Linked DNA regions of Homo sapiens: all the other regions are linked to region 1. The links are contacts of gene promoters, found by promoter capture Hi-C in blood cells and fetal thymus (Javierre and others, 2016). All regions are on one chromosome and are shown on one strand. The core of a region is centred on a gene start or on the middle of the fragment in contact, and the rest is flanking DNA. Distances in the headings are between cores, read along the strand shown. Region 1 holds the start of UNC5A (unc-5 netrin receptor A). Region 2 overlaps CDHR2 (cadherin related family member 2). Region 3 overlaps GPRIN1 (G protein regulated inducer of neurite outgrowth 1). Region 4 overlaps SNCB (synuclein beta). Region 5 overlaps EIF4E1B (eukaryotic translation initiation factor 4E family member 1B).

Region 1 (4,661 bases), core at 1,270-3,769:
TCCAGCAACAGAGGGTGGGCGCGTGGCCTGGGGAGCAAGCGGCTGCAGTCAGTCGCGCTGGCCCCCGGCGCCCCCTGCTGCCCGCTGGCCATCCCTCCCTCAGCGGCTCACAGACACATTTTTCACCGGAGGCTGTTGCAACGGAGGCAAAAGGCAGCGCGGGAGGAGCCCGGGTCACGGCAGGGCCAGCCTGCCTGGGCGTCCACATGTGCCCAGTGCCTGTGGGGCACAGGGGGAAGGGAGTCCCAAAGAAGTAGGGCCAGCCCCTCCCCACCCCATGGCCTTCAGCAGCTCCTCCCGCAGGCCCAGGGGCAGAGTTGATGCCTTGGGGCAGGCTCTGCGTCAGCCCCTGCAGCACCTGTGCCCACCTGCCGACTCCCTGGGCAACCTTGGGCCAGGCCTCAACAGATGCCCTGCCAACCAGGGATGCAGTTTCCCCACCCCCACAGCCTCCTGAGGAGTCCCTGTGGCAACCCCCCGCTCCAGGCCGCAGCACCCTGCTTCACCGGTACCTGTGCCCCCTTATCTGTACACGCTCACCTGTGCAACTGCACACAGCCGTCACACACGTGCGGCATGCTGGTCATCACACACGTTCATCAGGGCACACACATGCCAATGCTGCACACACCATGCCAACCCCCCTGGTTACCCGGGCACACATGTCAACCCACAGCCTTCACACGTGCTCACGTGGGCGACATGCAGCTATGACCACACAGCCCTCAAAAGCATCAACTCAGAAAACATTTCCAGGGTACCTACTGGGTGTCAGGCAACACCCCACCTGTGTGTGGGGCACTAATATCCCCACCTCATCATGGACAACAGTGCAACCTGCACCCGGGTGCTCATCTGCGGAGCTGCACACACGCCCCTAACACACACATGTGGCGGACACGGACACACACCCAACAGCAGTTCAGCCTCTCAGCTTGGTCAGGATTAGAAGGAGAGGCCCTGGGGAAGAAGAGGGGTGCTGATGGAGAAGGGAGATAGAAGGGGTGGGATGGAGTAGAGAGGGGTACTGAGGAGGCAGGATGGGGCGGGCGGTCAGGCAGTGGTGGGTGCAGGATGCGCTGCGCAGAGACACCCTTTAAGGAAACAGCCATCGGCCTCAATCATCAGGCTGGCTCCTGAGCTCCCACTCATTGATCTCTGATCAATCTGGTTTGGCAGCTCAGAAACCCCAGTGCTCCCTTCCAACACCCCTGTTATAAGCAGCGGCCTGGCCAGGCTGGGGAGTAACCGCCCAGGTTCTAGGGGCAGCAAGAATCGAGAATTGCCAGGGTAAGCCTCAAGCCCCCTTGACCACACAAATGGCACCCACCCCCCACCACCACAGACACATACGCTCAACTCAGCTAAGTGCATGGGGGGCAGAGATCAGGAGGCCCCCACAGCTCAGCCTAGGTGAAGGCTCAGGGACAGCAGACAAAGGATGCAGGGGAACTTCCTCCCCCCAAGCCCCTCCCAAGGGAATGAGGTGGGCTGAGGGCTGAGTTAGCAGTGGGTTAGGGTGACCAATGGGGCATGCAGGGGCCAAGAAAGGCTATGGAGTTTAAGGAAGAAGGGGAAACTGGCGGACCAACCACACACAACTCTGGCCCCCCGCACCAGGGAGGCCAGGAGCCACAGCCCCGGCCACCGGGACCGCGGCGCTTTGACTGTGCTGGCTGCAAGGACTGGGGGCTGGTGTATGCGCCTCCACGCCTGAGTGTGTGCGTGTGAGAGCGTGTGTGGCGGGGACAGAGGAGGACACTGTGTTCTGGACGTGGGCAGAGGCCAGGTGCCAAGCTGGGAGATTGTGAGTGGCTGTTTAGGGCAGATGCTACCGGGAAGAGGTATCTTAAACGTTCCCCGCACCCCCCATTTCCTGGGCACTGGGATAGGCTCAAAACCCTCTAATCTTCGAATCCTCAAAGTCAGGCTCCCTGGGGTTGATCCAAACCCCCAGCCCTGCTCCGGGCCCAGGCAACCAGCAAACTTCCCCCACCCGGAGGCGTGGGGTGTCTACACTCGCCAGCCCCGCGGGCTGACAGCTGCTCCTGGACTTGGCAGAACCCAGGCTTCCGGGAGAGCGCGCGGGGAAGCTGCGCAGCAGCAAGAAGAGCCCCCCGCGTCCCGCCTCGCAAAGTTTGGCCTCGGGGGGCTCCCAGCCGGGTCTGGCAGCGCTGGTCAGGGACCCCCAGAGCAGCGAGCGTTCGCGCGCACGGTCCCCCGCAAGCCTCCCCAGAGCGCGCGCGGCGTGACTCACCCGAGCCGCGGAGCCAAGCGGCGAGGACTATGCCCAGGAGCGCTGGCCACAGGCCGGGCCGGACGGCCATGGCCGCGGGCGGGCAGGCGGGCGGGCCGGGCGCGGGGCCCCGCGGGCGGGAGGGCGGCTTTAGCGCCTCAGCCCGGAGCCCCAGCTCGGGGCGCCCCCGGGGCCCATGCCAGCGGACTGCGCTGCCTCCGGGCGGCCGGCTGCCGGGCGCACGCGGCGCGTGGCTCCCTTGGGCACGGGAGCGCAGCAATGCAGCCGGGGCGGAGCGCAGCGCCAGCCGCGCCGCGCACCGAGCCAGCCGCGCCGCGGAGCCCGCAGCCGGAGAGCGGGCCGGTGGGCGCCGCAAAACCCGGACTGGAGCGACGGAGCGGGGCGGCGGCTGGGAGGGGCGGGGGAAGGAAGGAGGGGCCGGGCCGCCCCGCGCAGCGCGCGCGGGCCACCCCCAGCACCGGGAATCCCTCTGGGCGATGCCTGAGGCTCCCCCAGGGAGGGGCTTGGGGTGGTGGGCGTGGAGGCCTCCCACCGCCCCGCGGGGTCTCCAGGGACAGGGGCAGGAGTCTGAAACCCGGAGTGGATCGGTGCTCCGGATCCGGGCTCTCGCGGGCCCGCCAGTCTGCGCACAGGTGGCCCGGGAGGGGCCCGGGGCTGCGGCGACCCCGGCGCGGCGCCAGCCTGCGGAGAGCCGCCCAGGGCAGGGGTGCCCCGGGCAGGTTCCGCTGCAGTCCTCTCCCCCGCCCTTTCCTCGCGGCCGCGCTCCGGGGTCGTCCGGGCGCCGCGGTACGCTGCCAGCCCGCGGCTTGGTTAGGGGACTGCGGGAGAGCCCCGGGGCCCTGGCCCGCGCGCAGAGGTGCCCTGGCCACCAGAGCTGGCAGGCCAGACTCGGGGACACCCGCAGTCCCAGCCTCGCAGGCTGGTGGATTCCAGGGGCGCGCCTCACACCATGACCCAAGGTTTCCCTAACCCCTCGGCGCCGTTCGCCGAAGGAAAACAACCTTCAGGCGCAGCACACCCGACTGGGCGCGCGGTGTTTGAGCCCCGAGAGCGCACGGCGCCCGCGACGTGGGTGTAAAGGAACGAGCTGGGCTTTGGCAGCTAGGGAGACCGGGGGTAGGGTCCAGGCGACTTCACCTTCCAGCTCTGTGACCTTGGTCAAGTCACGTCGTCTCCTGGAGCCTCCAGCAGTGACCGCTGCTGGAGTCTCCTGTGCCCCACCCCCATTCCCTAATCGGGTTAAAATAAACAGAGGGCTGCCTTGAAGGAGAAAGGAAATGACAGCCGCGTGCGGTGTGCCTGGGGGGAGTGATCGGAAAAAGAGAGGGTCCTAGTCTGGGTCGGGAGGGGAATGAGCAGGGTGAGGGCAGGGTCGCAAACTCAAACGCCTACGGGGCCGGTCGATAATATAAATTGGCGCTGCAGGCTAGGCGATGTAAGGGATGGTCTTGCTTCCACAAAGAGATATGAGCTCTCCTATATTTCTTGAGACACGAGGCCCTCTCTCGGTCTGTCTTTTGTTTCCCACTTTTGATAGAGAAGGGTTATGAAAAATGTTTTGCTTTCCTCTTAAGTCTACTATAAAAAACACCAGCTAAAGCTCCAGAGGCAACCATACAGACGCTGGGCTCCATCGCCAGGGAGGCAAAGGGCAGTGCTGGGGACAGGCACAAGGATCCCATCTCAAGGGGCAGCTGCCTTTTCTGCTCCAGGTGCTGGTTGTCGGGGGAGGGGACCGGGGCACAGTATAGCCGCATCTTCCAAATTTTCAACAGAAGCCGTCGTATGTGAAATATTCTGATTTAAAATTTTTAACTAGTAAAAAATAATTTTTTAGACTTCATGTGAGCCCAGGGGAAAGTGTTCACCACCTTCTGGTTTGGGAACTTTGCTTTCGGGGCAGTTTGAATGTACACGGTGTCAGGGCCTGATCAACTCACATGTCTCGTGTGTGTGTGTGTGTGTGTGTGTGTGTGTGTGTGTAGGAGCAGTGTGTGCCCAGGCTGCTCCTGTTGGCACCATAACACCCCTCTTCAGCCTCTGCAGGAAAGAGGTGGGTGGGAGAGGAGAGTCAGTGGCAGGATCTGCCCTTGGGGCCCACTGGGGATTGGGCACTGGAGGCTGGTGGCTGAGGATGAAGGAAGAGGATTGAGGGCTGGGGTATAAGATGACATTATAATAGTGTATGCTCTGTCTAAAGGGATGGCCGGGTGTGGTGGGTCACACCGTAATCCCAGCACTTTGGGAGGCTGAGGTGGGTGGATCGCTTGAGGTCAGGGGTTTGAGACCAGCCTGGCCAACATGGCGAAACACCATCTCTACTAAAAATACACACACACACACACACACACACACACACACACACACACACAGCCAGATGTGGTGGTGGGCACCTGTAATCCCA
Region 2 (4,661 bases), core at 1,076-3,575, 230 kb after region 1:
GGACCAAGGCTGGTCACGAGCCCAGCTCAGGGCTCATCCCCCTAAACCTGCCCTCAACCTCTCTACCAAAAGAGACCCCTATTACAGCCACCACTGGGCCAGTAGTTAGCAAGTCATCCACCTCCCATTGTCACAGGTGAGGTCACAGGCCCACAGGACCATGCGGAAATGGAGGCCCAGAGAGGGAAGTCCTGGCCCAGGGCCAGACATTAGGTCGGACAGAGCTGGAATGAAAACTCCAGTGTTGGCTGGGCATGGTGGCTCATGCCTATAATCCCAGCACTTTGGGAGGCCAAGGCGAGCAGATCACTTGAGGCCAGGAGTTCAAGACCAGTCTGGCCAACACAATGAAACCCTGTCTCTACTAAAAATACAAAAATTAGCCAGGTGTGGTGGCGCATGCCTGTAGCCCCAGCTACTCTGGAGGCTAAGGCATGAGAATTGCTTGAACCTGGGAGGCGGAGGTTGCAGTGAGCTGAGATCGTACCATTGCGCTCCAGCCTGGGCGACAGAGCAAGACTCCGTCTCAAGAAAAAAAGGAAAGAAAAAAGAAAACTCCAATGTCCTCTCCTATTGCAGCCCTAGGAAGATGCAGGATTAGAGGCCTTCCCCCCTTTCTAAAGGCTCCCCCTGGGGTCCAAGGAGGGTCTGTCGGGGTTGCTCAAAGGCGGCCTTATGGAGCAGGGGTATGGTGTGTGAATGGGGTTGCTGCTTACCAAAAGTCTTATTCTCAGGCAGAAAATAGGGTGCATTGTCATTCACGTCCTCAATGGTAATGAGGAGGCTTCCTAGGAGACAAGGTCAGCTGGCTTTGGCTCTGGGCAAAAGCTTGACCCAAAGAGCCTGGGCCTCAACCCTGTGCCCCACAGCCTCAACCCCATGCCCCGCAGCCTCAACCCCGTGCCCCGCAGCCTCAACCCTGTGCCCCGCAGCCTCAACCCCGTGCCCCGCAGCCTCAACCCCATGCCCCGCAGCTTCTCTCCCATGTGTTCCCCCATGCTCAGTCCCCTTCCCTGCTCCTGACCCAGAATGCCTGATCGGTCTTCTCTGGCCTGTGTGGGTGGGAGTATCATCCCAGACCTCAGAGCAGATAAGCAGCTTGTCAAAGTCACACAGCAATAGTGGTGGGCCAGGATTGGGCCCAGCCTAGGTAGATCTCACCTATGACATTATACTGACACATTCTAACTATATAAGCTGGTTGTTTAAATACCCACTTTCTGCCTCAGTTTCCTCATCTATAAAATTGGATAGGGAACACCTACCCCATGGGTTGTGTGGAAGTGGAAAAATTCTTACAAGGTGCCTGGTGTAGTTCTTGGCTGTCATAAGGACTCAATATATGCTAGTTGTTAATGTGATTATTATTGCTATTTGGTGTCAGAAGTGGGATACAAGCACACATCTAGCTCTGCAGTGTTATCTTTCTTTCACAGCATCTTGTAAAATAATGGCATTAATTTGATGCTACTGCATGCCAGGCACTGCAATAAATGCCATACATCCATATTCTCATTGAATCTTCACAGCCCACCCCACTGCCCAACTCCACTGGACAGATGGGGAAACTGAAGCTTGGAGAGGGTTTGGGACTTTCCCAGTATTTGCAGCTGGAAAGGGCTGGAGCCAAGATCTGAGCCCAGACCTTGTGAGTTCCAGCCCAGGGCTCCTTCCCGCGGCCCCTAAGCTATGGCCTGCCAAGCCCTGCAAGGACAGGCTGCCTTACCATTGTTGCTGTAGGCCTGGAAGCCGGGGTCCGTGGCTAGGTCACAGGCCCGCACAACCAGCGTGACCAGGTCACAGGCCTCGTAGTCGATGGCTTTGCTCTGGTTGATGTACACAGAGCCGTTGGCCGCCACTGAGAACCAGCCCCAGCATAGGCTGCCCACATCGACCCCGGCCTTGGTGCAGAGAATGTTCACAAGCTGTATCTCCAGCTGGGCACTGGTGTCCACATCCGAGGCAACCACCACAGCCACCTGGCCGTGCTGTGAGCCATTCTCAGCCACACGGATGCCCCGGAGTGAGGCTACATCCAGGGTGGGGGGATTGTCGTTCACGTCTTTCACATTCACGCAGACGTCTACTATGGTCTCACCCCCCTGGGGGTCTGGGTTCTCAGCACTCACTGTCAAGTTGAAGACGGGCTGTGTCTCGTAATCCAGGCTCACGTCCGGGGGCAGCCGGAGGTAGCCCTCAGCCCACCCAGCCCCCAGCACCAAGCCTCGGATCATGAAGTAGTTGGCACCACTCCCCGACAGGCTGAAGCTGATGCGGTTGTTGGCTTCCGTCTGGTCCGCGTCCCAGGCCTTCACCACGCCCACTAGCACTCCTGTGGACAAGGGGCAGAGCTCAGAAGGACTCCTGACCCCGCCATCGGAAGCCTCCTCTGCCCTTGCCTCTCTTGGAACTCGAGGTCCACCCTGACAAAGCCACACTGGGTCCCAGCCGCAGTGTCTCTCCTGGCCCAGGGAGCACATACCTGGATCCTCCTCCTTCACCGTAAAGTTGTAGCTGGACTGATTGAAGATGGGCAGGTTATCATTGATGTCCTGCAGTCAGAGACAGGTCTGAGTCCCCGGGATCCAATCTCACCCTCCCCAGAGCCAATCCGAGAAACCAATAATCCCTGTGCTCCAAGGCATGGACTCTACTAGTGCCTCAGACCTCACTGCCCACTTCCCAGATGAGGAGACAGGCTCTGAGAGGAGGGAACTTGCCCAGGTCACACACCCGGGGTTCAGGGACCTACAGTGGGACCTTGGCCTTACACATCCATCCTCAGGAAGCCCTGCTTGCTTCCTGTTTCTCTGACCACAGCTCAGGACTTGTTCTAGACCCTGCTTTCTAGAAGCACAGTTCTGGGTCCCCACCTGCGACCCTGCCTGGCCCAGCTTGACTCCCATCTCTCGGATTTATTGTGTTGGCACCAATACCATTATATGTCCACAAAGGCTCCAAGGCCCACACTTTCCCTTGTCCCCTCCTACCCCTGTCCCTCCTGCACACAACTGAGCCCACAACACCAGCTCTGTGCTCAGTCAGAGCTGGGCTCCGGGGACCTGCAGAAGCTTAGACCTGCTCCTGCCTCAGACACCAGCTGTTTTTGGCTCTCACCTCTGTGGCCAGCCCTAGCCCACTGGGCACAGCTGGAGCCCTGCAACTATTGTCACAGCCTGGAGGTGACTCTGCCCTCCCCTATGTCTCCTAACACTGGCATGTGCTTGGGGGATGCCCTGAGCACTCCAGCCCTTCCCAGGTTTGTGGGTCACATAACAGGTGTTTGTTTTTCTGAATAACCCTAGAATGAACATTTGGAAGACAACATTCTTGCACCTTAGCTAGATGTCTTTTCTGCTGCTAATTTCCCAGCGATGACATCATTGGCTCCACGCACAAGACCAGCTGCATTCTCAAGGTCACCCTAACTCACAGGAGTGGATAAGAGCACTGAGTCACATCTTGCTCCACCTCTGCCTCATGTGTGACCTTGACCTCTCTGGACCTCAGTGTCCTCATCTGCAAAATGGGGTAGTAGTCCCCACTAATAGGGCAATTGTGAGGACGGCTCACAGGGGTGAAGAAACCTGTTCACTCAGGAAATGAAGTTCTCTCTTTGCAGCCCTCCCACCCTAAGGACAACCAGCAAGTCCTCATTCTGCTTCGTTTTCTTCATTTCTGAGGTCTCACTCTCTGACCCTTGTGTGAAAATGGCACATCCCAGTCCAGGGGACACAGGGCTGCTATGTGCAGTGGTGCAGGCTGTGCACTGCACAACCCTATGGGGTGCCATCCACATCACAGACACGGCAGAGGTGCACATTTGTCACAATACTGTTCCAGAGGAAGGTGCCTTGTGGGCTGGTGGCAGCCTTAGAACCAGACTGATTGAAGTCAAAACCCAATTTTGTGACCCCCAGGCAAGGTACTGAACCTCTCTGTGCCTCAGTTTCTTTTTTTGAGACAGGGTCTTGCTCTGTCTCACAGGCTGGATTGCAGTGGCATGATCATAGCTCACCGCAGCCTCAACCTCCTGGGCTGAAATGATCCACCTGCCTCAGCCTTCCAAGTAGCTGGGACTTCAGGTACATGCCACCATGCCTGGCTAATTTTTTATTTTAGTAGAGATGGGGTCTCGCTATGTTGCCCAGCCCAGTCTCAAACTCCTGGGCTCAAGCAATCCTCTCACCTTGGCCTCCCAAAGTACTGAGGTTTTTGGCATGAGCCACAGCAACTAGGCCCGCCTCAGTTGCTCAATCAATAAAACGGTAATAAACCGGGCTCAGTGACTTATGCCTGTAATCCCAGCATTTTGTGAGGCTGAGTTGAGAGGGTCGCTTGAGGCCAACAGTTCAAAATTGGCCTGGACAATAAGTGAGACTCTGATTCTATGAAAAATAAATTTTAAAAATTAGCCAAATTAGCCAGGCATGGTGGCACGCATCTTTAGTCTTAGCTACTTAGGAGGCCAAGGCGGGTGGATCGCTTGAGCTCGGGAGTTCAAGACCAGCCTGGGCAACATGGAAAAACCCCATCTCTACAAAAATAAAAAAATTAACCAGGCATGGTGGCATATGCCTATAGTCCCAACTACTCAGGAGGCTGAGGCAGGAGGATCGCTTGAGCCTGGGAGGTTGAGTCTGCAGTGAGCCATGATGGCA
Region 3 (4,661 bases), core at 1,395-3,894, 210 kb after region 1:
GTGGGTGGATCACTTGAGGCCAGGAGTTCAAGACCAGCCTAAACAACATGGTGAAACCCTGTCTCTACAAAAAATACAAAAATTAGCCAGGTGTCGTGGCACATGCCTGTAATCCCAGCTACTCGGGAGGCTGAGGCAGGAGAATCACTTGAACCTGGAAGGTGGAGATTGCAGTGAGCCGAGATCATGCCACTGCACTCCGGCCTAGGCAACAAAACAAGACTCGGTCTCAAAAAAAGAAAGACAGTGAGCGTGCTGGGCCCAGGTAATGGAGCTGGGTTCTAGTGGGGTAGTTGCGGGGAGAGAATGTGGGGCCTCAGGCCTGGGCTGCCTCTCAGAGAAGCAGCTCGAGGATCCTCAGGCCTCCCCAAGATCCAGGAAGGGCCCAGCAGAACTGTGAGCAGTAGAGCCTCTGGGAGTGGTCTTGGGGCAGTTCTGAAACCCAGGGCTGGCCTATCTCTTCCAGATGTAACTACATCCCCTCTCCCATTTCACAGATTGGAAAACTGAGACCCACGGAGTAGAAAAACTCACTCAGAGTCATAGAGGATGTCAATGACTAAGCTGGGGCTTGACCCCACATCTTTCTACCTCCCTGACCAGGCTCTCTGTCCCTACCCTGGACTTTATCCCATCTCAGAGGCTGGAAAATACAAGTTGGGGACGGGAAGCCTGGGGACTTTCAGAAGGGGCATGTTATCAGCTGAGCCAAGCTTGCCTCTTAGAACCTGTTTCTTCCTCTGGAAAACAGGACTACAACAGCTGCCTGGCAGGCGGGTGGGATTTGCACATAGTAAGGGCTCGACTTGTACAAGGTCACCTCTGCCTTTCATGGCATTGTGCTCCAGGGTCCACACTCAGGTGGCTACAGGCCAGGAGGGTAACATACATGAAGGGCCGGCTGTGAGAAAAACGACAGTGAGAATTCCATGATTGATGGCAGCAGACAGTCAGCCTCAGTGTCTAGGACACCGTGGGGAAGAGGGGGGATTGTGGCTGATTGGAGAGTACACCCCCATCTAAGGAGGCTGTCCCTTTGGGGCTCCAGCTGAATGTTGCCAGGCAGGAAGCACGCTCAGACTGCCAAATTTTAGTTTTCCAAGAGAAGCTGGAAATCTTACTGTCACATGAAATCTTCTAATGTTTAGAAGTTGATCGGTTAATTCCTTTTTAAAACTGATTTTAAAATGTGTTTAGCTCTGTGGGTCAAACAAGCCTGTCTGAGGGTCAGGTTTTGCTGGTTTGTGTCCCTGCTGCAGACCCTTTCCTCCCCTGCCCCCTCCTGGGAGCACAGCTGGGCTCTGACAGGCTGAGCAGATAAAAACAGGCCTTCCACAGACACAGCCCAGCCCTAAAGTGAGCAGAGTCAGGCACACCCCTCATTTTCTTTAATTCTCACTATAGCCCTGGGGGAGCAGGAGGTGGGTTCTTCAGGGTCCCCAAGGAGGAGAAGGGCGTTGCTTGAAGTCACAGAGCTGATAAGCGGTGGGCTGGCCTGACTTTCTGCCCGGGCTGCACCCAGGGAGAGGAGCTTATTGGCTGGGCTGGTGTGTGAGGACCCCAGGGCTGGGCTTCCAGGGCTGAAATGAGGGGTAGTGAGGGCCCAGAGCACCCTTCCTATATCCTTTGCTGACTCCTTCCAGCTCCAGCTAAACTCCCTGTACACCAGCCAGGCAGCTGTTGAATTCCTGTTTTCCAGAGAAGGAAACAGGCAGGCATGGTAGGCAGATCCTGGCCCTCACTGGAGCCTGGGCCCTTTCTCTCTCTCCCTGTCTCTGTTTTAAAGACAGTTTCTTGTTCTGTTACCCAGGCTGATCATAGCTCACTGCAGCCTCAAACTCCTGGACTCAAGAGATCCTCCTGCCTCAGCCTCTGGAGCAGGCAGGACTATAAGTACATGCCACCACACCTGGCTAATTTCTTTTTTTTTTTTAATTTTAATTTAAAGTTTTTGTAGAGACGGGATCTTGCCGTGTTGCCCATGCTGATCTGGAACTCCTGGCCTCAAGCAGTCATCCCACCTTGACTTCCCAAAGCACTGGGATTACAGCCGCGGAACTCCGCCCCAGGGCCCTTTCCCTTGACCATCTTCCCGGTCACCCTGGCTTATAACGTCCTTTTCCATAGGCCAAGGGCCAGATGGATCAGAGGTTGCAAGCTGGTGACCTAGGGGTCAAAGTTGGCTCATGAAAGTGTTTTGGCCGGGCATGGTGGACCATGCCTGTAATCGCAGCACTTTGGGAGGCCAAGGCAGCCAGTCACTTGAGGCCAGAAGTTCGAGACCACCCTGGCCAACACGGTGAAACTCTGTCTCTAGTAAAAATTTAAAAAATTAGCTGGGCATGGTGATGTGCGCCTGTAGCCCCAGCTACTCGGGTGGCTGAGGTACGAGAATTGCTTGAACCCGGGAGGCAGAGGTTGCAGTGAGCTGAGATTGTACCACTGCACTCCAGCCTGGGTGACAGAGTAAGACTCTGTCTCAAAAAAAAAAAAAAAAAGTGTTTTGTTTAGCCTGTATGATATTTTTTAAATTAGCCAATATTTAAAACATGGATATCCATGCTGGGCGCGGTAGCTCATGTCTGTAATCCCAGCACTTTGGGAGGCCAAGGTAGGCAAATCACCTGAGGTCAGGAGTTCGAGACCAGCCTGACCAACATGGAGAAACCCTGTCCCTACTAAAAATACAAAATTAGCTGGGCATGGTGGCGCATGCCTGTAATCCCAGCTACTTGGGAGGCTGAGGCAGGAGAATCACTTGAACCTGGGAGGCAGAGGTTGCAATGAGCCAAGATAGCACCATTGCACTCCAGCCTGGACAACAAGAGCAAAACTCTGTCTCAATAAATAAATAAATAAAATACAGATATCCAGATTTATGACTTAGCTAAAAAAAAATTTAGGAAACCTGGAGGCACAGCGGCCACATTCACTTCCCTGCTTAAATACTTCCAAGGGGCGGGATACAGTGGCTCACTAGGCGCTAGGTATAATCCTATTGTAGACACGAGATCCTGCTATGTTGCCCATGCTGGTCTGGAACTCTTGGCCTCAAGAGATCAAGGTATAATCCTATTACATTGAGAGGCTGGGGTGGGAGGATCACTTGAGCCCAGGAGGTCAAGGCTGCAGTGAGCCGAGATCGCGCCACTGCACTCCAGCCTGGGCAACAGAGTGAGACATTGTCTCAAATAAAAAGAAAATACTTCCAGGGTTTCCAGTGCCCTTAGGCTAAACCCCCCTCCTCCACCATGCCTCATGTGATTTGCTGCCTCCTCTTCCGCTGCCACCCCCTTTCCGACTCCACTCCAGCTCTTCATGGCTGGCTCAGATGGTAACTGCCTCAGAGGGGCCTTTCTTGACCACATGTCTAAACCAGCTGCCCACTCCTTTGTCTTCACAGCATCCATTATTTGAAATACTATGATTTATTTGCCACTTGTTTATTTCTCTCCTCCCAATCTTTCTGCATCTATAAGGCAGGGACCCCACATTTCTTATTCACTGCTGTATCCCCAGTCCCAAGAATAATGCCTAGAACATTGCCTGTGTGCTCAGTAAATGCTGAGTTAATGGAATGATTCCTAATTGGCCACAGCTGGCAGGAATTGAGTGCCGTTGCCCCTTTAGAAGGGGCCAGTGCCCTCTAGTTTGCCACAGTCCCCACCACTCCCTCTTGTCTCCCTCAGTCTGGGGATGTCAGGAGTCTTTCATCATCTCCCTTGTAGGAGAAAACAAATATTTGTGCCCATATCACTATCAAAAGGCCAAAGATGAAGATGGACTCAATTCACGCCACTCAAATCTGATGCCTGCCTGACCCCTGCAGGCTGGTGACCATCCAGTGATCCCACGAATTCCAACCAGACCTCTCCCGTGCTTCTGGCCTGCTTCCTACTGCCTCCTGGATGTCACCCCCCATAAGTCCCATGGGCACTCCAGTTCCACTTCCGAAACCCAGTGCCCCATGATCCTCTGCAAAACTGTTCCTCTTCCTGTGTTCCCTCTTAGTGATGGTCCCCCTCCCCCACCTCATAAGCCAGAGCCTGAGGGACCCAGTAGTGAACAGTATCGACTGTGTCCCCATCCAGAGACCTGAGGTCTGGCCAGGGACCCAGAGGTGTAAATGGCCAGATGCAGAGTGACATGAGCCTTGTTAGAGGAGGAACGAGAGGCTACAGGAATCCCCAGGAAGCTGGTAGCCAAACAAGGCCCACTAGAGGAGGAGGTGTTTTAACGGAGATCTGAAGGTGTAATAAGAGACAGCCAGGCAAGAAGGGAGGGAGAGATTCCTCCAGAAGAGGGTGTGTAGAGGCTGAGATGGTGGGGGAGAGAGAGAGTGTGTATCTGTGTGTGTACATGTTTTGGGGGTGGGAGTGGGTAATGAAAGATAAATCCCAGCACTTAAGTAGAAACATAGGGGCTTAGGAGCATATTAAAGAGCTGGACTTTACCCCAAAGGTAAGAGTGAGTCATTAAAGGTTTCTCTTTATTGTCCATTGGAAAAAAAAAGGACTATGTGCGCACATAACCACAATTTAAACATCACAAAGGGGCGCACAAAGAAAAGCTTCTCCCACCCTCAGATCCCCGCTCTTCCTTCTGAGAGGCAGTCACTGCTAAAAGTTTTATAGGATTCCATCCAGAAATTCTCTTTATAA
Region 4 (4,661 bases), core at 1,105-3,604, 190 kb after region 1:
TAAGCGATCCTTCTGACCCGCACATGCAGGCAAACACACACACACACACACACACACACACCAGGCACACAAATAAACCTGTCACCATCCCCGCCCCCCTAATCCTGCCACCAGCTTGGAACACAAGCCACTTTGCCTCCCATCCTGCAGGCCCGTGCTAGACTCAGCTCAGAATGCATCTGAATAAAGGCGTGCATGGGTGTGACGCTCCCGGTGATGGGGACCCAGACCTGGCTGTCTGCGTGTATCCTGCTTGCCAGCGTGACCCAGATGACTTCTGGCCACGTCTGCATGTGTCAATGATTGTTCATTCATTTCTTTTCATTCAACAAATATCCATGCCAGAGAGGAATTGTTGTAGAGGCTGCCGCAGTGAATAGGTTCCTACGTTCCTGCAGCTGACATTGTAGTGGGAGAAGATAGTAAAACGCAAGCCAGCAGGCAGGATGCTTTCCGCGGGGATAAGTGCTACAGAGAAAAGACAGAGAGGGCGATGGGACAGACAGGCAAGGGGTGAGAGGGCTATTTTGGCTGGGAAGACTTCTCTGAGGAAGAACCATTTGAGCTGACACCCAAGGGATGAGAGAGGCAGCCTTGAGATGTGTGGGAAGCGAATTTCAGGCTGTAGGAACAGCAAGTACCAAGGCCCTGAGGCAGGTTGGAGCAGGTGGGAGCTGTGCTGGGGTGGGTGTGATCTGTGCAGTTGTGTTTCCCCAGGGGAGCCCTGGGAACCACTCATGTGTGCATGGAGACAGATCCCCCTACTAGGACCCCCTGATAAGAGGGGGTTAAGAGTTGTGAGCTCTGAACCCACCTACCCCCAGCCTCAGCTGGGTTTGAATCCTAACTCCACTACTTCCTGGCTGTGTGACCCTGGGCAGTTCCCACCATGTCTCTGAACTTGATAGTTCACTTGTAAAATGCGAGTGAACACAATAGGAATCTCATGCAGATTGGAGATAATATAGATATTCTCAAAGCTTGAGTGTGTATCAATCACCAAGAGGCCAGGTTAAAATACAGATTTTTGGCCCCATCGTTAGAATTTCTGATTCAGTAGGTCTGAGGTGGGGCTGGAGGATTTGCATTTCTAACAAGTACCCGGGTGAGGTTGATGCCGCAGTTCCAGGGAGCATACTATGAGAACCATGGATATAAAGAGCTGGGTTTGCATACAGTGAATGCCCTGCAAGAGATTGTGGCCACATGATCACTCAAGCAGTCTGGGTCTGCCTGCAGGGGATCCTGTGACCACAGGCGTGCCTGGAAGTGGATCCCCCATGACATGTGTGTGCAGGCATTCGCTGTGAATGCTCTGTGTCTGTCCATGGACGCGTGCAGACCCTGCCTCCATGGGGATGGGGGCTCCTTCTGCAGCGTCTGGTTTGGGTGATCAGTGTACGTTCAGCATGAGTGCATCCACCAGGCTGTGGGAGACCCCACGCTGCCCTCCACTCCTGTCATTTTGCACAGTTGGTTCCTTCCACTGTTGGAAGTCAGGATCTTGACTCAGAAGTTCTAGTTCAAGCCCTGTCTCTGCATTTTACTATCTGTATGACTTCCCATTTGTTTTTTTTTGTTTTTTTTTTTTTTTGAGACGGAGTTTTGCTCTTGTTGCCCAGGCTGGAGTGCAATGGCACGATCTTGGCTCACTGCAACCTCTGCCTCCTGGATTCTAGCAATTCTCCTGCCTCAGCCTCCCAAGTTGCTGGAATTACAGGCACCCGCTACCACACCCGGCTAATTTTTTGTATTTTTAGTAGAGACGGGGTTTCACCATGTTGGCCAGGCTGGTCTCGAACTCCTGACCTCAGGTGATCCACCTGCCTCGGCCTCCCAGAGTGCTGGGATTACAGGCATGAGCCACTGCACCCGGCCATGACTTCCCATTTCTTATAATCATGTTACCAATAATCACTTCCATTCATTGATCTCTTTCATGAGCAGGCACTGTCCTAGATGTTTGACTCTAGATGAACTAACTCATTGACTCTTCCCAATGTGGCACCATAACCAGCCCGTTTTACAGATGAAGAGACTGAGGTTTAGAGAAGTGAAGTCACTTGCCCAAGACCCCATTTCCTGCCTGCCTCCCTTATAAGGTGGTCAGGAGGATAAGCTCAGGCCATGTCACTGGGGTCGCTTGGTGATGGCACAGGGCCAGTCCTAGTGCTGCGAGCTGGGGTGCAAAAGAGAGGCAGGTTCAGCCTGTCAGCCCCAGGCTGTGATGGGTGTTTGCACAGAACCATTTCTCTCTGGTCACCTTTCTCCTACTGGTGCTTGTTGACGCCTCAAGGCTACCCTCCCAAGGGAGCCCAAGATCATAGAGTTATAACACAGACAACAGCCCCTTGGGCCACCAGCGGCATGGGGGACTCATGCAGGCCCATGGTCTGCATTTCTGAGACTCTCTGCTTCGAGCATGCTTTCCATCCATCATCACGGAATCCTCACCAGCCTCGTTTCCCATGCAAGGCTGCTGAGATTAGAAGCAAAATGACTTGCCTGATGCCAGGTAGCTACCAGGTGGCCAGGCTGGGGTTGTTTGTTTGTTTTCTGAGATGGGGTCCTGCTATGTTGCCCAGGCTGATCTGGAACTCCTGGGCTCAAGCAATCCTCCTGCCTCAGCCCTCCAAGTATCTGGGATTACAGGCTATGGGTATTTTTTTAAGTGAACTTTTTATTGAAGTACAATGTACATGTGGAAAACTGGCAGCTCCATGAAATGTTCACAAAGGGAACTCCCCTTGTAACCAGTAGCCAGCTCGAGACAGAACACTACCCCCCAGGACCCCACCTTGTGACCCCTTCCAGTTCCTATCCCCAGGGCCAGGACTAGGGGGAGACAAAAGAGGTGTCTGGGGCACTCACTCATGGAGTCTCACTTGCATGGCCAGGAGACGGAGGCCAGGCCTCCCTAACATCTACACTCCAGGAGCCTCACCCACCTCCCCTCAGTCCTGGCCCTGCCTATCGCCCTCCAAGGGGAACTGCTTTCTGACTTTTTTTTTAGACGGAGTCTCGCCCTGTTGCCCAGGCTGGAGTGCAGTGCCACAATCTCAGCTCACTGAAACCTTCACCTCCTGGGTTCAAGCAATGCTCTTGCCTCAGCCTCCTGAGTAACTGAGACTACAGGCGTGCACCACCATGCCCAGCTAATTTTTGTATATTTAGTAGAGATGGGTTTCACCATGTTGGCCAGGCTAGTCTCAAACTCCTGACCTCAAGTGATCTGCCCACCTTGACCTCCCAAAATGCTGGGAGTGGTAACGGGCGTGAGCCACTATGCCTGGCCTTGCTTCCTGGCTTCTATCAGCACAACACTAGTTGGGTGTTTTTTGACTTCTTGTAAATGTTATCATGAGGCTGGGCACAGTGGCTCATGCCTGTAATCCCAGGCATGAGGCCGAGGTGGGCAGATCACCTGAGGTCAGGAGTTTGAGAACAGCCTGACCAACATGGCGAAACCCCATCTCTACTAAAAATACAAAAATTAGCCAGATGCAGTGGCACATGCCTGTAATCCCAGCTACTTGGGAAGCTGAGGCAGGAGAATCGCTGGAACCCAGGAGGCTGAGGTTGCGGTGAGCCGAGATCACACCACTGCGCACCAGCCTGGGCCACAGAGTGAGACTGTCTCAAAAAAAAAAAAAAAAAAAAAAAAGTCATCATGAAGGCCATGCTCTTCTGTTCTGTATCTGGCTTCCTCCATTCATCAGGAAGCTTGTGAGACTCAGCCCTGCTCTTGTATGCATTGTTGTTCTTCATTCTTGTTATGTAGTATTCCATTGTGTCGTTAGGTCACAAGGCACACATCCATTCTACTGATGTTGGACATTTGGGTTGTTTCCAAACAATGTGCTCAAGCTGGCTTGTTTTGTTTTGTTTTGTTTTGTTTTGTTTTGTTGAGATGGAGTCTCACTCTGTTACCTAGGCTGGAGTGCAGTGGCGTGATCTTGGCTCACTGCAAACTCCGCCTCCCGGGTTCAAGCGATTCTCCTGCCTCAGCCTCCCAAGTAGCTGGGACTAGAGGCACGCACCACAGTGCCCAGCTATCAAGCTGGCATTTTTAGCACTACATTCCATCCCTGGGTTCTGGTCATAGCTGGGTGACTTGGGGGCAAACTAACATTTCCCCACCTCCTGGGCCTTGGCATACGCATCTGTGCAGTGGGGAAATGAGCCAGGTCAGGAGCTGGAAACTCATGTGCCCACAGGGCCCACTTAGACAGGTAATGTGAAGGAGCTGACGCTGCCTGGATGGAGCTGGGACACCCAGGGTGCAGACGTGGTCAGGGCAGGCTTTCCCCAGCACCAATGCTCCGGGATCCCAGGCGTGTGCCAGCCCCACATGAGGCACTGCACAGGCTGTGCATGGATCCTAAGCTATCGCGTGTGCTTGTGTGTGCAGCCAGCTCAGTCCCATGTTTGTTCACATACATGTGGTCACCTGCAGGTGGCTGGCCATGTGTCTGGCAGCCCGCCCACATGCATGCCCGCTGGTCTGCGCCTGTCTGGGCAGCAGACGCAGCGGGTGGGGGGGAGAGTCTTAGCTCACACATCCAAGCAACACCACGAGCTGTGGCTTCCAGCTTATCTTAAAATAGCAACAGCTGAAGAAACGAGGCCACACAGGGCCCGGGGGAGGGATGAGTGGAAGG
Region 5 (2,968 bases), core at 453-2,952, 170 kb after region 1:
GAGGGGTGCCAAGGCCCCCCTCACACCACAAACTTGTTCTTGGCTAGGGAGTTGCTCTTGGTGGCTGTGTCTGCATGGGCCTGGTACCCAATGATGGTCTTTGGGGAGAGGCCCAGGCGCTCTTTGTATACACGCCTGCAGGTGCGGGGGACACAGAGGAAAAGAGACACAGGTAGTCATCAGAGGGTCCTAGAGATAACTTAGGCCACCAGACTCCTACCCTCATTCTGGCCACAGCCACACCTGTTGTGTCTTACCCATGTGGAAACCCAAAATATGACCCCCTTAATGCAAAAGGAGAGCTGCACTGCCGTAAGAGAAAGTTAGAAATCTGAACGCCAGACCTTCCATACAGGTGGGCAAGGCAGAAGGGAGGGAGGCTATGGAGACTTTCAGAGGTCTCCCATGCAGGCCAAGCCCCCTCCACCCACCTTCCCTCTAGCAGAGACCCAAGTCCCCACCCTGTGCCAGAGACCCTCCTCACCCAACGTGCAGCACGCCCGCCTGGTTTTCCGCCTCCCTCGTCCACACAGCGATCTTGTCCCCCTTGGTGCGGATGTTGACGACGGCCCCACATACCTCTCTGCTGTGTTCCTCAAAGCTCTCCCCGATCAGACACAGCAGCTGGACCCGAAGTAGGGGGTTGTGAGATCACCGGCTGGGACATAGGGACTGGCCTGCCATCCTTGAGACCACTGCCACCATGAGACCCACACAGCCCGTCTCTTCCCCTGAGGACCCTCCTCCTCCAACTCACCGTCTCCAGCCACAGCCGGTCCAGCTCAATGTGGCGCTGCTGCTTGGCCAGGCTGACCAGCCAGCGGCCACCCCGTTTATTCCTGCTGTCCTCCCACATGGGCTGGATGCCATCCTGCAAGGCAGATGGCAAGTCAACTGCCTCCCTGTGTTCAAAGGGAAATGGGGACCCACCCACCATCCCGGCCTTATCCGCTCTCTGCTGAGGCCCTAAGTAGGCCAGATTCTCTTATCCTCCCTTCCCTCAGTGCAAGCAGGTTCCACCCCCAGCCACTCAGCTCCCCCCGACAGACAGCACTGGTCACCTTGTATAGCCTTGTATATGTGCATGTCTCTTTTACTGAGTTCCTTAAGACAAGCATTCAAATCGGGGTGGATTAAGGAAGCCTCAGGGGCAGACCCCAATGCAGGCAAGGGGGACATCCCAGGCTTGGCTGCATGGTTCCCAGGCAGGGCAGAAGTCACTGGGGAGATCTCTAAACACAATGTCAGCCCTCCAGGGATGGGTGTGGCATCAATGAGTGTCCTCAAGCAATTCTGATGCCCTTCCCTAGTTAAGGAGCCAGGTCAGAAATCTCTCCCTCTCCCTCTTCCCGCCTCTTAAGGTCCTCCAAGGTGCGGCTTGGGCCTGACCTACTCTGTCCGGGCTCCTGTAGAGCATTTCCTCCAGTCAGAAACCACAACTCTGCTGAGAGGTGGCCCGTAGCTCCCCACCCCCACCCCTCTGAGGGATTAACGCAGTGGAGTCCGGGAGGGATCAACCCCTTGTCCCTTTGCGGGAGGGAAAGAGGAGAGCAGAGCTTACCTTGAAGAGGGCGTAGTCACAGCCAGAGGAGAGCTTGCTGGCCAGCTGGATGTGACTGTATAGCCTGGACAGAGCCCCCGACCCCATGCCAAAAGTCAAGGCTTTTTAGGGCCTGGTTCCAACTGGGTTCAGCCCTCCCAACTCCTCATCCGACCCCATGGCCTCCAAGCCTTTGCTTACACTGGCCTGCCACCTGGGATTCCACTCCCGTTTATCCAAACTCTCAAGACCCACCTTTTCCACAGAGCCTTCCCAGTGAAGGCTGAGCCAACCCCTGGGGAGGGTTTTAGACCCCCTGGTGCTCCCCCCTCCAGCTACAGCCGAGGCCTTCTCACCCTCCCTAGGGCTTGTGTAGCCCTTTTCAGAGCCACTCCCGTGAGCACCCGGACACTGAGGCAGCCGAGTCCTCCCTTTGCAGCTGAGACAGGTTCAGAGAGGGGAAGGAACTTGCCCAGGTCACAAAGCCCTGGAGTGGCCGAGTCAAGGTCAGCTTCCTGCTTCTCCTGCTCCCCAGGCTCTCTCCCTGAGCCCAAAGAAGGTGGTGGGGTGGGGGGTGGTTGTGCCCTATACCCCCTGGGCAGAACCCACAAAGCCCCAGCCCTCACAAAGGCTGAAAGGCCCTAGGGAGGGCTGGCTCAACCCGGAGAGAGGGAGCCCAGAGCTCAGAGCCCCCCAACTCTAGCCCCACTGGGGACAGACACTCACGCCCAGAAGTCCTCCACAGTGTCCACCTTGGTGACCAGGTGCAGGTTGTCCTGCCAGGCCCGGCTGCGGTCATTCTTGAAGAACCACAGAGCCCACCTGGTAGGGGAAGGGGGAGGCAGCCAGGAGGAAGCAGAGAGCCAAGTCCACCCCCGGGGCACCTGGACTGACAGGGAGGACCCTCCCCTTCAAGGGCGAACTGGGAGATGAGATTTGGGGCACAGCATTCCCCTCTCAGGTGAATGAAATCAGTTGTCCTGAAGGGCAGGGGAGGAGTGGGGGTGTTTGACCCACAGTCTCTGCGGGGTTAGGGCTGGAAGGGCCAACAGGGCCCAAGGCTTAGGTCAGCCCTGGCCTCCCACGGATGAAGAGCTAGGGCCAAGAGAGGCGGGGTTGCCCAAGGCCACGCTGCCAGCACAGAGGCTGGCCTGAAAGCAAGGGGCTGTGTTCCACTCGCAGGCTCCTGCCTACCTGTTCTGCAAGGGGTGCAGCTCCAGCTTGACTTCCATGGGGCCCCCCGTCCGGGCCTTCCCTCTCAGAGACAGCAAAGTCCTGGGAGAGTTTGGAGACTTTTCTCCTGTGGGCGTCCTCTCTGCTGCCTCCTCCTCCTTCTCCTCCTCCTCCCACTCTCGGATTCCACCCTCAGCTTCACTCACCTGAGCCAAAAAAAGGAGTCAGGATGGGTTGTGAGCTCTGGCCCTGGCT

Evidence for each region. Contacts are between HindIII fragments. The CHiCAGO score rates a contact against its expected background, and 5 or more counts as called.
Region 2: a fragment that was not itself captured here is called in contact with the fragment with the promoter of UNC5A in region 1 in 1 of 17 cell types (M1 macrophages); the score reaches 6.0 in M1 macrophages.
Region 3: a contact is called between a fragment that was not itself captured here and the fragment with the promoter of UNC5A in region 1, in 2 of 17 cell types (M1 macrophages and M0 macrophages). The highest score is 6.9, in M1 macrophages.
Region 4: a fragment that was not itself captured here is called in contact with the fragment with the promoter of UNC5A in region 1 in 1 of 17 cell types (M1 macrophages); the score reaches 5.3 in M1 macrophages.
Region 5: a fragment that was not itself captured here is called in contact with the fragment with the promoter of UNC5A in region 1 in 1 of 17 cell types (M1 macrophages); the score reaches 6.0 in M1 macrophages.

Annotation. Positions count from the first base shown.
Region 1 is chr5:176,808,417-176,813,077 of GRCh38, reverse strand. UNC5A (unc-5 netrin receptor A) reads right to left here and starts at 2,519. Exons shown (of 15, transcript NM_133369.3): 1 at 2,258-2,519. The coding sequence starts at 2,327. The HindIII fragment of the contact is 10,823 bases long and covers 1-4,661 here.
Region 2 is chr5:176,582,081-176,586,741 of GRCh38, reverse strand. CDHR2 (cadherin related family member 2) reads right to left here. Exons shown (of 32, transcript NM_017675.6): 18 at 2,483-2,552; 19 at 1,727-2,332; 20 at 717-788. Among named protein-coding and RNA genes, the nearest start is that of GPRIN1, 26 kb to the left of the region's middle. The HindIII fragment of the contact is 1,497 bases long and covers 1,577-3,073 here.
Region 3 is chr5:176,602,932-176,607,592 of GRCh38, reverse strand. All of the region lies in intron 1 of GPRIN1 (G protein regulated inducer of neurite outgrowth 1), which reads left to right. Among named protein-coding and RNA genes, the nearest start is that of GPRIN1, 4.9 kb to the left of the region's middle. The HindIII fragment of the contact is 3,857 bases long and covers 716-4,572 here.
Region 4 is chr5:176,621,736-176,626,396 of GRCh38, reverse strand. The region is part of intron 4 of SNCB (synuclein beta); the gene reads left to right. Among named protein-coding and RNA genes, the nearest start is that of MIR4281, 5.4 kb to the left of the region's middle. The HindIII fragment of the contact is 2,743 bases long and covers 983-3,725 here.
Region 5 is chr5:176,643,033-176,646,000 of GRCh38, reverse strand. It overlaps EIF4E1B (eukaryotic translation initiation factor 4E family member 1B), which reads right to left. Exons shown (of 9, transcript NM_001099408.2): 4 at 2,735-2,919; 5 at 2,267-2,362; 6 at 1,562-1,625; 7 at 758-871; 8 at 485-624; 9 at 1-135. The coding sequence ends at 21. Among named protein-coding and RNA genes, the nearest start is that of TSPAN17, 3.0 kb to the left of the region's middle. RefSeq lists enhancers at 184-694, 1,276-1,915, 1,916-2,557. The HindIII fragment of the contact is 4,593 bases long and covers 1-2,968 here.